4 separate regions of the Homo sapiens genome follow, and regions 1, 3 and 4 are each linked to region 2. The links are contacts of gene promoters, found by promoter capture Hi-C in blood cells and fetal thymus (Javierre and others, 2016). All regions are on one chromosome and are shown on one strand. Each heading gives the region's core, a stretch centred on a gene start or on the middle of the fragment in contact. The rest is flanking DNA. Distances are from core to core; before and after follow the strand shown. Region 1 holds the start of SASH3 (SAM and SH3 domain containing 3). Region 2 holds the start of MBNL3 (muscleblind like splicing regulator 3). Region 3 holds the start of PABIR3 (PABIR family member 3). Region 4 holds the start of RAB33A (RAB33A, member RAS oncogene family).

The links. Contacts are between HindIII fragments. The CHiCAGO score rates a contact against its expected background, and 5 or more counts as called.
Region 1: a contact is called between the fragment with the promoter of SASH3 here and the fragment with the promoter of MBNL3 in region 2, in 2 of 17 cell types (naive B cells and non-activated CD4 T cells). The highest score is 8.4, in naive B cells.
Region 3: a fragment that was not itself captured here is called in contact with the fragment with the promoter of MBNL3 in region 2 in 1 of 17 cell types (total B cells); the score reaches 7.0 in total B cells.
Region 4: a contact is called between the fragment with the promoter of RAB33A here and the fragment with the promoter of MBNL3 in region 2, in 1 of 17 cell types (M1 macrophages). The highest score is 6.9, in M1 macrophages.

What each region holds. Positions count from the first base shown.
Region 1 is chrX:129,778,628-129,781,439 of GRCh38, reverse strand. It overlaps SASH3 (SAM and SH3 domain containing 3), which reads right to left and starts at 1,491. Exons shown (of 8, transcript NM_018990.4): 1 at 1,286-1,491. The coding sequence starts at 1,342. It overlaps LOC124905215 (a long non-coding RNA gene), which reads left to right. Exons shown (of 2, transcript XR_007068328.1): 2 at 1,161-2,812. RefSeq lists enhancers at 1,141-1,200, 1,251-1,330, 1,581-1,740. The HindIII fragment of the contact is 655 bases long and covers 948-1,602 here.
Region 2 is chrX:132,487,744-132,490,523 of GRCh38, reverse strand. MBNL3 (muscleblind like splicing regulator 3) reads left to right here and starts at 1,486. Exons shown (of 9, transcript NM_001386889.1): 1 at 1,486-1,673. RefSeq lists a silencer at 638-1,207. The HindIII fragment of the contact is 7,236 bases long and covers 1-2,171 here.
Region 3 is chrX:134,806,066-134,809,054 of GRCh38, reverse strand. It overlaps PABIR3 (PABIR family member 3), which reads right to left and starts at 1,818. Exons shown (of 11, transcript NM_001388447.1): 1 at 1,714-1,818; 2 at 1,347-1,515. The coding sequence starts at 1,456. RefSeq lists enhancers at 1-916, 1,302-1,461. The HindIII fragment of the contact is 1,289 bases long and covers 888-2,176 here.
Region 4 is chrX:130,170,246-130,173,304 of GRCh38, reverse strand. It overlaps RAB33A (RAB33A, member RAS oncogene family), which reads right to left and starts at 1,343. Exons shown (of 2, transcript NM_004794.3): 1 at 985-1,343. The coding sequence starts at 1,242. RefSeq lists enhancers at 806-1,760, 2,570-2,619 and silencers at 1,880-1,959, 2,130-2,189. The HindIII fragment of the contact is 5,739 bases long and covers 1-2,684 here.

The DNA of each region.
Region 1 (2,812 bases), core at 242-2,741, 2.7 Mb after region 2:
AGGGTTTGGACGGGGATGACAGAGCCCGTGTGAAGATTCATGAACCTCCCCCCTCCCCCGCCCACCACCACTGCAACCTTAGAGAAGCAGCTGGGGTGGGGAGAATACAGCCGGAAGTGGCAGCCACCCCAGGACCTGAGAGCTGGGGCAGGATGCACACCCCACTGCCCCGAGTCTCAGTCTTTCAGCTGCCTTGGCCTCCATCTCTGAGCTACTCCCCTGACAAGGGGGATCCACCATAGGGCACCTGGGCTGAGTTCCAGGGAAAATTGGCGGGGGATAGCCTGGGCCTCTTGGACCTAGTTCAGGCCTGCTTTGGGACTGTCCTAGCATCCCATTGGATGTGTAGGATATACTTGCTGATTGTCTGGGAGAATCCTTCAATTGAATTAAAGAATTAGGTCTAGAAATCCTCAAACCCAACCAAAGAAATCTGGAAATCCTCAAATTCAACCACAAAATCCTAGATCTGGCACAGCCTTCAAGGATTCTTCCAGTCCGGTCTCTGCCCCAGGGGGATGAACACCTCAGCCATCCATGACAGCTGTTTTTCCTCCTGGCCTTTAAAATCCTCCCTCCTCAGCCTTCACTCCTACTCACCACCTCAACTTAATTTCTCATTCCCCACCCAGGAAGAACCTGTATGCCCCCTGCATCCCACTGCACTTCCGGATGCCTTTTCCCCCAAGACTGGAATGGCCTCAGGCCCCCATCTCCAGGTTGGCTCCATCTCGGGTAGGGCCTGGGAGCTACCACAGAGCTGAGCCAAGTGGGCAGGGTCTGGGCCATGGCCAAAGTGGAGGAGGGGGTGGCAGTCCTGTGAGCATCATGGCTCCAAGCTGGGCAGCCCAGCAGGGCCCTTTGAGTGAGATGGCTCCTGAGAGGCCGTGGCCGGGGCAGAAGTGGCAGCAGGACCAGCGTAGAGGAGAGATAGTTAAGTACAAGCTTAGGGTTCAGCTTAAGCATTGTATTTTGTTATTCTCAAATTCTAGTCTAAGATTCTGGCCCCTAATTTTAGATCTTTTTTCCCATTCTTCTAGGGTTGAATTGCATGACTCTAGATTTCTAAGGATCTATTCTGTAACTCTGTTGCTCCAGAATTTTAAACATCTCTTCTGTACTTCTGTTAACCTTTGGGTCCCTGTCCCGTTGCCTTCTAGGTGAGTGGCCCTCACCTACAGACTCAACATATGGCCTTTGGCTCTTCCCACTTCCAAGAGTCTTGGAAGGGATGGGTCGAGCAAGCAGAGGAAAGGAAGATGTGAGTTCCCAAAATGCTCCTCACCTTTTTCTTCTGAGTGGGCTCCTTCTCACTGGCATTGGAGGGCTTGCGGCGCAGCATGGTCCTCCACCCTGGGAGACTCCGTCCCTGCTCTCCTAGGTGTCAAGATGCAGAGGCCTCTTGCTTAGCCTCACCAGAACTGCCCGGGGGCACGGCATGAACCGAGCCTTCAGCTGCCACTCTGACTGCTGCAGTGGCAGCTTGGGGGTGCGGGCCATGGACACCCGGCAGCAGCAGCATACAGGAAGCCCTGCCACGTGACCTACTCTTACAGCAATCGCAGCCCCTGCCGGCCCCTAGGGAGGAAGGAAGTCCAAGCTTCAGTCTCCAGAGATTCTGATGCAGACGGCTCTTGGGTTGAACAGTCAGAGAAAGTCCCTACCTTGTTGTCTCATGTCGATCATCATCAGTCCTTCTGCTCCATCTTCCTAGAGGTGGACAATCAGCTCGACATTATATGGCGTACCCAAGCCCTTTATCTCACTGACCAGAATCCAGAAACCAGAAGTTGGACCATCTGGCTGCCTGTTGGATCAATGCTCCCGGTCAACTCACGTCTTCAAGGTCGTCACTGCCATCACTACCACTACCATCACCCCTGTGACCATCACCACTGCTACCATCACTCCTATCAATAGCCATCACCATACAGCCATCACCCCTACAGCCATCAGGCCTGCAGCCATCCCCGCTGCCATCAGCACACCTATAGCCATTGTCACTATGGTAATCACCTCTACAGTTGACATCCTTCAGCCATCACCTCTACAGTCATCACCATTGCTGCTATCACCCTTCCAGCCATCATCCTTACAGCTGTCACCCTTCTGGACATTACAGCCAACCGCACTCATGACCCTCTCACCCCTATAACCATCGTCCCTACAGTCATCTCTCCTACAACCATCATCACATCCGTGCAGCCATCAGCCCTGCAGCCATCACTCCTACAGCCATCAGTACACCTAAAGCCATCATCACTAGAGCAGTCACCCCTCCAGTCAGTACCCCTCAGCCATCATGAGTATATTTATCACCACCACAGCTGAAAAGCACTTACAGCCAACTCCACACCTCTAGCAAGTATCCAACAGGCATTTATCAAACACCTATGCAGTATATTCAATTTGTGGGTTGTCTGTGGCAGATTTTAATAACTTTAATAACTTCTTGGTATTACAAAAGCAACTTGTATTTGTCATACAATTTCACAAACACATAAACAAAAAAAATTTCAAAATTTCCCATCATTGTCCTCTACACTGTTTTAAGCATCTATCTACTCTCTGTCTATAAACATTTTTTTTCTTTTTACAAAAATCATACTGCTCAGAAAACAGATAATTGGTTTGGGGAGAAGGGGAGGGGAGAGAAGGGAAGGGAGACATCACACAGGGTAACAGGAAGCTTTTAGGAGTGATGAATATGTTCACTATCTTGACTGTGGTGATGATTTCATGGGGGAATACACATGTCAAAACGTATCAAATTGTATACTTCAAATATGTGCAGTTTATTGTAGCTCCATTA
Region 2 (2,780 bases), core at 237-2,736:
AAGAAGGGGAACAGATTGCACTGATCAGCATTTCCCTGTCTGAAATTCTTAGAGGGAAATAAACGATTGGGGCATTTATGAAAGATAAAACCCCCAAGAAGGCAGCTGGTGAGTATGAATGTATTTATTTAGCCTGTAGCGAGTGGACTTATTCATCGACTAAGATCAATTTTGAAAGGACCCATTTCGCCTCACCTGTCTGGGAAGTGTCTATGAGCGTCCCGCTGTGAACCACACTGCCTTTCTCACTGGCACTTCAGTTCCTGAAGAGCCAGAAACTTTGCACCCCTACCCCAACCCCGCCTCTGGGGATGTGTGCCTGCTTCGTTTGTTTTCGCTTTTGTAAAATCTGAGCGTTATGATTTGTCCCCCTTTCCCTTCCTAATGAAATGACAAAGGGTCTGTGCAGCGGGGGCTGGGCTGCTGGGTTTGGGGGCGAGGCGCCACACCCCCTGAGAATAAAGCCCGCGCTGCGCTCTCGGAGAACCAGGCACGAGTGAGCGAACCACACAAAGAATATATTTCGCGACGAAACAGCGCCCTACAGGAAGAAAGTGCCCGCACTCCGAGCGTGAGCCGCAGCGCGACTTTTTGGCGCTCTTTGGGAGCAGTGAGAGAGAGGCGGAGGCCAGAGAGTCCGGGGTGGGCGCGGGAGCCGGGGCGGCCCTTGGCCGCATTCCCGCCCGTCCCGCAGCGGCGCGCGGAGCCAGGTGAGGTTGGCGGCGGCGCCGCGCTACCTGGCCGGGCGGGGCGGGGCCGGGCGGCCGCGTGCGCCGCTTCCGAGTCCGGCGCTCCGGATGCCCGCCCGCGCTCCGCTGGCCCGCGGAGTTTCGCGGGAGTTTCCGTTTTGGCGCCTAAAGCCCCTCGCTGGCGCCGTTTCCCTCCGCGTGCCGCGTCTGTCCGGCGCGGGACGCACGGAGGCGCGGCCCCAGCCCGGGCTGCCTGGGGTCGGCGGGGCTGCGCGAGGGGACGTCTGGCGTCCGGCGGAGGGCACTGGCCCGGGAGGAGGGCACGCCTTTGGCAAAGGCCGGGCGGGGTTGGGACCGGGGTTGCTATGGTAGCTGCGAGCCCGGGCGGGAGCCCCACGCCCGGCCTCCGCGAGGGAGCTGGGGCGCTCCGAGGTGTGCTCCGAGTGGACTGAACCAAGAGCCTGGGAGGAGCGGGTAGGGCCGGCCCGTGGCCTTGTCCCCTCCTCCCACAGCCCGCCGGCCGGCCCCGGGAAGGGGCCTCGAGGAGCCCAGAAAAGAAAGTATTCTGGCCCCTGGAACCGAAAGGAGTCTTGCAAAAAGCACGAAGGGGTCAAGGGGGCCGAAGGGAGAGGGGGAACCGTCGCCTCCGTCCGAGAGTCAGCGTGCGCGTGTCTGTAGACTTGACATTTTATACCCCAGAGCGGCCGACTTGGAGCCGGGTTGCAAGTCCCAGCCCTGAAGTTCTGGAGGTGGGGCGGGCTTTAATTTGCTTATATCTAATGATTTCAGGAACCTCGCTTTAAAATGGCGGCATTCAGTATGCACCCCTGCTAAAGGCTCTCCCGGCACCGGGGCCACCTCGCGCAGCGCTGCTTTTGCTTCTGCCGCTAACAGATGGCATGTGCCGCTGTCGCTGCCGCTGCCCCTGCTGCTGCCGCTGAGAGCAGGGCCCCTTAGCCTCTGGGTTTGCGCTAGCAGCGTAAGGTAAGGCTGGAGATGAATTGGGATTTGTAAGAGAGGCTGCCTTCCTCGGACGCCGAGGAAATAATGCCTTTTAAACTTCATTTTACAAAATAGCAAATAGGAGGAAAAGTCATCCTGCAACTTTGTTGCGATTTTAGAGCTTTGATCATTTTCCTCCTCCTTTCCTCCTCCTCCTTTTTCTTCTTCCTTCTCTTCCTCCTCTTCTCTTCCTCCTCCCCTTCCTTCCTTCTTTCTTTTTTTCTACTTTCTTCTTTTTAATTTAAAGGAACTTCTTGCATGGCATATAATCAGCAAATGCTTTTTAACAACGAATTTCCCCATTTTCACGCGATATCGTGAGCAGTGCCACAGCTTCCTTGCAGAACCTTGTCTCTTCCTGCCCTGAGTCAACACGTTTGGGCAGCTCGCTTTTACTACTGGGGTTTGAAGGGCATGAGAGTAGATTTTAGGAGACTATTAAAAAGGGAACTTTAGTTTTTAACACTCACACAATAAGCTTTTATGGTAAGAAAACGAAATTAAACCCAGACGAGTAATGAAAGTTGACATTTAAGTGATTCTTTGTTGTGGTTTCATAATTAGGGTAATAGACCTACTGTGTGTTTTTCTGAGCACTCTTAGATAGCTAGCTAGCTAGCTAGCTAGCTAGATGATAGATAAAACAGATAAATTAATTGTGGCTCTAATTAAAGTAATATGTTTTAAAGGAGTTATTTTCTCCTAGATGTTCTTACATCGTTTGTAAATTGAGCTGGGATCCCCACAGCCTCTCCGTATTTGTGGGTAGACTTCATGGGAAAGAATCAATTAAAACAAAACTTGCAAGATTTAATTTTGAAGTGATTGGTACTTTTTTTATTAAGCGGACTCCCTGCTTTAGTGAATAAACGTTTGGGTGATTACTGATATAATGTTTGGAAAACAGATTGTTGGTATGTGGGAATGACTAAACATCCATGCTTGATACAATTTATCTGAATTTTGTTTTGTTTTGTTTCCCCCTCCAGTGAAAGGTAAATAGACAATGAGGCTTATCAGACACCTTGGATTTTTCCTGATTATATTTCCATCTTCTCCTTGGCCCATGAAAATCTAATCCTGAATGTT
Region 3 (2,989 bases), core at 283-2,782, 2.3 Mb before region 2:
TTTTCCCCTAATTGCTCCCCCTTCGTGAAATTTTAATAACACATATATAGTATATATCTGTGTACATACTGTATGTATATCTGCGCTTTATACATAAAAAGAGTAAAAATTTTTCACACTCCCCCAAGAACTATTTTCTCTTCCCCTTGGGGGAAGTATCACCCAGTGAGAATGTGTAATTTAGGAGATCAAGCTTCTGTGGTACCAAAACTTTCTGCTCCAATAAAAAATAGGTGTAGGCCAGGAGCAGTGGCTCACGTCTGTAATACCAGCACTTTGGGAGGCTGAGGCAGGCGGATCCCCTGAGGCCAGGAGTTCGAGACCAGCCTGGCCAACATGGTGAAACCCTGTCTCTACTAAAAATACAAAAAATTAGGCCGGGCACGGTGGCTTACGCCTGTAATCCCAGCACTTTGGGAGGCCGAGGCGGGCGGATCACGAGGTCAGGAGATCAAGACCATCCTGACTAACACGGTGAAACCCTGTCTCTACTAAAAATACAAAAAATTAGCCGGGAGTGTTGGTGGGCGCCTGTAGTCCCAGCTACTTGGGAGGCTGAGTCAGGAGAATGGCGTGAACCCGGGAGGTGGAGCTTGCAGTGAGCCGAGATCACGCCACTGCACTCCAGCCTGGGCGACAGAGTGAGACTCCGTCTCAAAAATAAATAAACAAATAAATAAAAAATAAAAATACAAAAAATTACCAGGTGTGGTGGTGGGCGCCTGTAATCCTAGCTACTAGGGAGGCTGAGGCATGAGAATTGCTTGAAGCCAGGAGGCGGAGGTTACAGTAAGCTGAGATCGTGCCAATGCACTCCAGCCTGGGCGACAGAGCAAGACTCCGTCTCAAAAAAAGACAAAAAAAAAAATGTAAAAAAGTCCAAAGCTTATTTGCTTGACAACCATTTCCATTCAAGCGGCTGGAGGTGAAGGTCAGAGGTGACAAAGCAGCTGAAATGACAAATATTACAGTCATGGCAGAAGATCTGGAGGTGAGTGGGGGAGGATACTAAGTTTCTTCAAAGGAGTGGGTAAGAAATGGGTTGAAGTTAGAAAAAAGCCGTGCTCCACACCAACTGGCTGCTACTTTCGGGTCCGAGTGGACTATCAGGGGAGGATGTTCAGATTCAGATGTTTGTCAACCTCAGGGTGGGTGCGCGCTCCCCCTCAGGTCAGCCCGTCCCACTACCCCCACCCAAGGTTGAGGGTGGGATCTCCGGACACCAGGAACAAGGGAGTTACCTGCAGAACCTCAACAAATAAAGGGACGGGAATTCTATAGGAAATCACTTTCCCGAACACCTCCTCCCCACCGCTTGCCTCCTCCAGTATCTCAACCCGGCTCACCCAAGTCCATTGATCAAAGGGGCACTGTTGACTCTTCTCAGAATGTTGCCGTCTGCGGTAGTGGAACTCGGCAGCGACTTGAAACCTAGTTTCATTTTCTCCTGTGCCATGTCCGGGTCGAGGAATAAGTTCTCAAGGCTTTCCGGCTCCCGTCCACACAAGGACAAGTCTACTTAGTGGGCAGGTGATGTAAGGAGAGAGGCAAAGGGGAAAAAGAGAAGAGAGGAGAAAGCTCTTAGGCGAGTAGGGGTGCCCACCTTTGCAGCCCTAGCAGCCCTAACATCAGTGAACACAAAGTTAGGCAGAACTGGCTCCGAACCGCCTATCTCCCATGATCGGGGCCTCTAACGATGAGAAGATCCCCCACCTCCAAGTCTATAATGTAACTGGGGAATTTAATCTGTCACCGCCGCGAATCCTTCTCCATCTCTCTCAGCCCTGGCAACTCATGGTAAGCCTTTCCGGCCAAAACAAAAACTACAATCTGCCGCCTTTGACAATCAGTTGGGTCCCGCCCCTCAGAGCCTGCGATAAGCTATCAGCCGGACGACGCCTGTTGTGATGCAGGCAATGACGTCACTTCAGGCGCCTTAGTCAGCTTTGCCAGGGGCGCACGCGCAGTTAAGAAACCGCTTTATCCCCATGTCCTGCCCTCCTTCCTCTTTCCCCAATGCCCACTTACCGTGGTTGTGCCTCTACTCTTTTACTAACCCTGGCATGGTTTCCTTAAGCATTATTTAGAAATGAAAGCGTTGGGAGGAGTGAGGTCCTTCCTGCCCTATGCCTAATTCTCATTTTTCTTATCCCTTTATGACTGAGGCCAACAAGCTTCTAACCTCCTATGATGCATTTTTCCATCCTGTAACAGCAGACACACTACACCTTTGTAATTTTAGAAAAGCAAAAGTCTGAAAAAAAAAAAAAAAAAAAGATACTGCTACCTAAGTGCTTAGAGGCCACTTGGTCCCAAAGGGTCTTGCTAAGGTGCTAACCTAACTGAGCTCATTTGGCAAACGAATTACTGTTTTCAGTGTGGTTTCTTTCTTTCTTTTTTAAACCATAATCGTACAGTTTTTTGTTTTTTTTTTTTTGAGATGGAATTTCGCTCTTGTTGCTCAGGCTGGAGTGCAGTGGCCGCGATCTCGGCTCACTGCAACCTCCACCTCCCAGGTTCAAGCGATTCTCCTGCCTCAGCCTCCCGAGTAGCTGGGATTACAGGTGCTCGCCACCACGCCTGGTTAATTTTTGTATTTTAGTAGAGACGGGGTTTCACCATGTTGGCCAGGCTGGTCTCGAACTCCTGGACCTCAGGTGATCCGCCCGCCTCGTCCTCCCAAAGTGCTGGGATTACAGGCGTGAGCCACCGCGCCTGCCTCAGTGTGTATTTTTACATTATATATAATCTGGCTCCTCACAGCTATTCATATAAAAAATAAAGACCTCAGCTAATTTACAAAGATTTGAGTTAAAGCAGTGAGGCTTTTTTAAAAACAAATATCTCAGAATTTAGTATCAATGCAAATCAGTGTTTTCATTTCAGGTAGTATTAGAAGCTACATACATTCTAAGAATGCTGCCATGGCTCATATCGTTTTAAGAACTACTCTTTTAGAAATTTTCACCATCACTTAATGAGCCACACT
Region 4 (3,059 bases), core at 94-2,593, 2.3 Mb after region 2:
TGCCTTTATAGAGGCCCCCCTCTGCTCCCCATGACACAAGAAGTTGCCCTTGTTATGTCCTCCCTCCCGCCATCCCCTGCACATTGACATATTCCTGTCATATCAGGTTTCTACCTTTTCTGAATTAAAGGTGAGCACAAATGGTCAGACAAGAATATTTGCACTTAGCCTATTACATAAACTCATGGAGGGGGAGGATTGAACATTCCCCTGGCCCTCGGTTAAGTCACTGCATTTTTACAAAGACCTGAAGACAATACCAACAGAATGAATAAGGAGCAGTTCATGTATTAGATGCCCCAGACAAGTAAAGAAGATATCATTCCAGGGGGGCTGTTACAAAAAAACAAGTTTTGTCTATTACGAAGGGCTGGACCCTGCCTCAATTTCTTTAAAAGGGCTCATGGCTTTCTGCCAGAACCACCCCACTCCACCGCCATCTCAACTCAGCCCTAATTTTTTAACTATAAACTGCAATTTAAAATAAAGCAGCTTTTTCATTCTCCATGGATTTCCATCATTTCCTTCCCTCTAACGCCTTGAGGCTTAGCCAAAGTGGGGTTTTGCAGCCTATCGGCACCCAAGCAGTAGAAGAGACATCAGGATGTGTAAAGTGCTTTGGGATCCATCCCAGAGACTAGGACCCACAGATGCCTCCTGCCTCCCTCTGCCCACAGGTGCCGCTGCTCGGGGTAGGGGTCATGGATGGGAATCCAACATGCTTTTCCTGGCAGGACCTGTCAGGCAGGGGCTAAGGGTAAGAATGCAACCCCATTCTCAACCGCCCTAAAAAACTGAGTGAAGTGGGGACGGGGCCCCGCTGAGAGAGGTGAAAAGGGGTGAGGAGGAGCCGAGGGTCCTCGGCTCAGCAAGAGGCGAAACCGCCACGCGCTGGACGCTGGACGACGACAACCGCTAGAGCTATGCCTCGGGCGAGGTCCCCTCCCGGGTCCCACCCTTCCTGGACCTGACCCCCTGGATCACCTTGATCTTCTCGCCCTCGATTTCCACGGTCTTCTCCCTGAAGTCCACGCCGATGGTGGCTTCAGTCTTGTCTGGGAAGGTACCCCCGCAGAAGCGGAAGGTCAGGCAGGTCTTGCCCACGTTGGAGTCCCCAATCACGATTATTTTGAAGATGCGAATCTGCACGTACTGGTCCAGCGACGAGTCGAGCTCCAGGGACGCCAGGCCAGCGGCCGAGGCGGGCTGCAGGCTCCCATGGCCCAGGATGGGCTGCGCCATCTCCCCCGGACCGAACCGGGGCCCCAACCCCCCTTGAGGGCTCCACACAAAGAGAACGTCCACGTTCGTGCGCTCGAGGCGAGCGAGCTCTGTGCGTGTGTGTGTGCGCGCGTGTGTGTGTGTCCGCCCGTGTGTGCGTGCGCCGGCACCGTGTGCGCGCGCGCGCGTGAAGGGGGTGCCTCTCACTCCGGGCCCCCCTCCTCCTCCTCCAGCGCACCCTCCTTGCAGCTCGGAGGCACCAACACAAAAGCCAGGGAGAGGAGGAGAGAGGGAGGAGAGTGGACGAGCCGCGAGCCTTCTGCCTGTGTGCGCCCTCGGACCGGATGCTCTGGCGAAGGACCCTACCGCGCTGCTCCAGCCGCCGCCGCGCCTCGGCCCACACCCTCCCCTGCCTGCATTCCCGGGACGGACCCGAGGGAAGAAGCCTCAGGAGGAAAGAGACGGGGTGGGGACAGCGGCACACGCCACCCCGGGATAGACTTCTTTCTCCTTGCCCCCGTTTATGTTATAGGTTTCGGGCTCCCCACCCCCACTGGCTCGAGCGCACGGGGTCAGCGGGCAGGGAGCACAGCTGGGGAGGACAAAGAGCTGCACCTTAAGACATCACTGGATCACTTCGGCCTCCCTGGAGCAACGCAACTCTGCGGGGATGGGGTGGGGGCGGAGGCACCTCTTTCACCTCGGGAGCAGCGGGCAGCTGAGCCGCGCCTTCCCGGTCCCCGCTACCCCGTCCCCTCTACCCCCACCCTCTACCCGACCCGCGCCTTGGGATAAAGGGATGCTCTGTCTTAATGAGTGAGCAGGTGCACTCGCGGGCCCCAGGCAGCCTGGGAGGCCGCTGCCAAGACACGCAGTGGGTTGTCCGGGGCCTGTACAGCTGAGAGGAGGGAGCCAGCGGGCACGCGTGTGCGTGTGTAGGGGGTGTAACTGTTTCTGTTACAGACTTGCCAGATGTAGGGGGGCGCGTACCAGGCGCCAACATCCCCTTATCACACCACGCGCACCCATCCTCTGAATGTTCAGGAGAGCGGCTCCTATTGGCTGCCGCAGTCGGTTGTGTTTGGCTGGCCAATGGGGAAGGCCCGCCGCGGGAGAGGGCCACACAGAGGCTAGGAGAAGGGGGGGAAGCTAGTGGTGGCAGTTCCAGCAAAAGGGGACTTTGTTTACGGGGCTAGCCATTACTGGCCCAGGTGGAGGATCTTGGGACAATGGCATAAGCTCCACAGTGCCTTCCATTCCCAAGCCCTCCATATAACCATAAGTCCCTCCAGAACGCTGGAGTTTCAGAGGGAGTTGGGAATCCCTAGGAGGGTTCACCTCCCCCTGCAGCTGAATGTAGAACAAAGTGGTTGGGTCTAATTTGCCAGAAGCCTAGATTATGCTTGGAAGATGATAAATGAACACAACCTCCTTACAGTATTAGGGGGCTGCTGCCCAAAGCTTACTAATCATCACACACATCTTGGTCAAGACCAGTATTCCTTCTCCCTAAAGTCATTCGCGGGTTCAGAATTTGTTTGAAATCGACTTTACTGGGGGTACAATTTACATACGATAAAGTGCACCCATTTGTTTCTTTTAAGACTTTACCTCTCCCCCTACATATTTCATAAGCTAAGGTAACACTGACACATGTCACTAGCACTGACTCGTGAGTTATTGCTAATGCCATCAAGGTCAGGGATTCAAACAGCACAGTTGAGCTGCCATCTTATTTGGGAGGTTGAGCTGCAGGAAGAGACAAACATGACCAAATCCATTTCTGCTGAGAGAAAAACAATTCAGTGCATCAGTGATATACCTGAAAGCAAATTGGA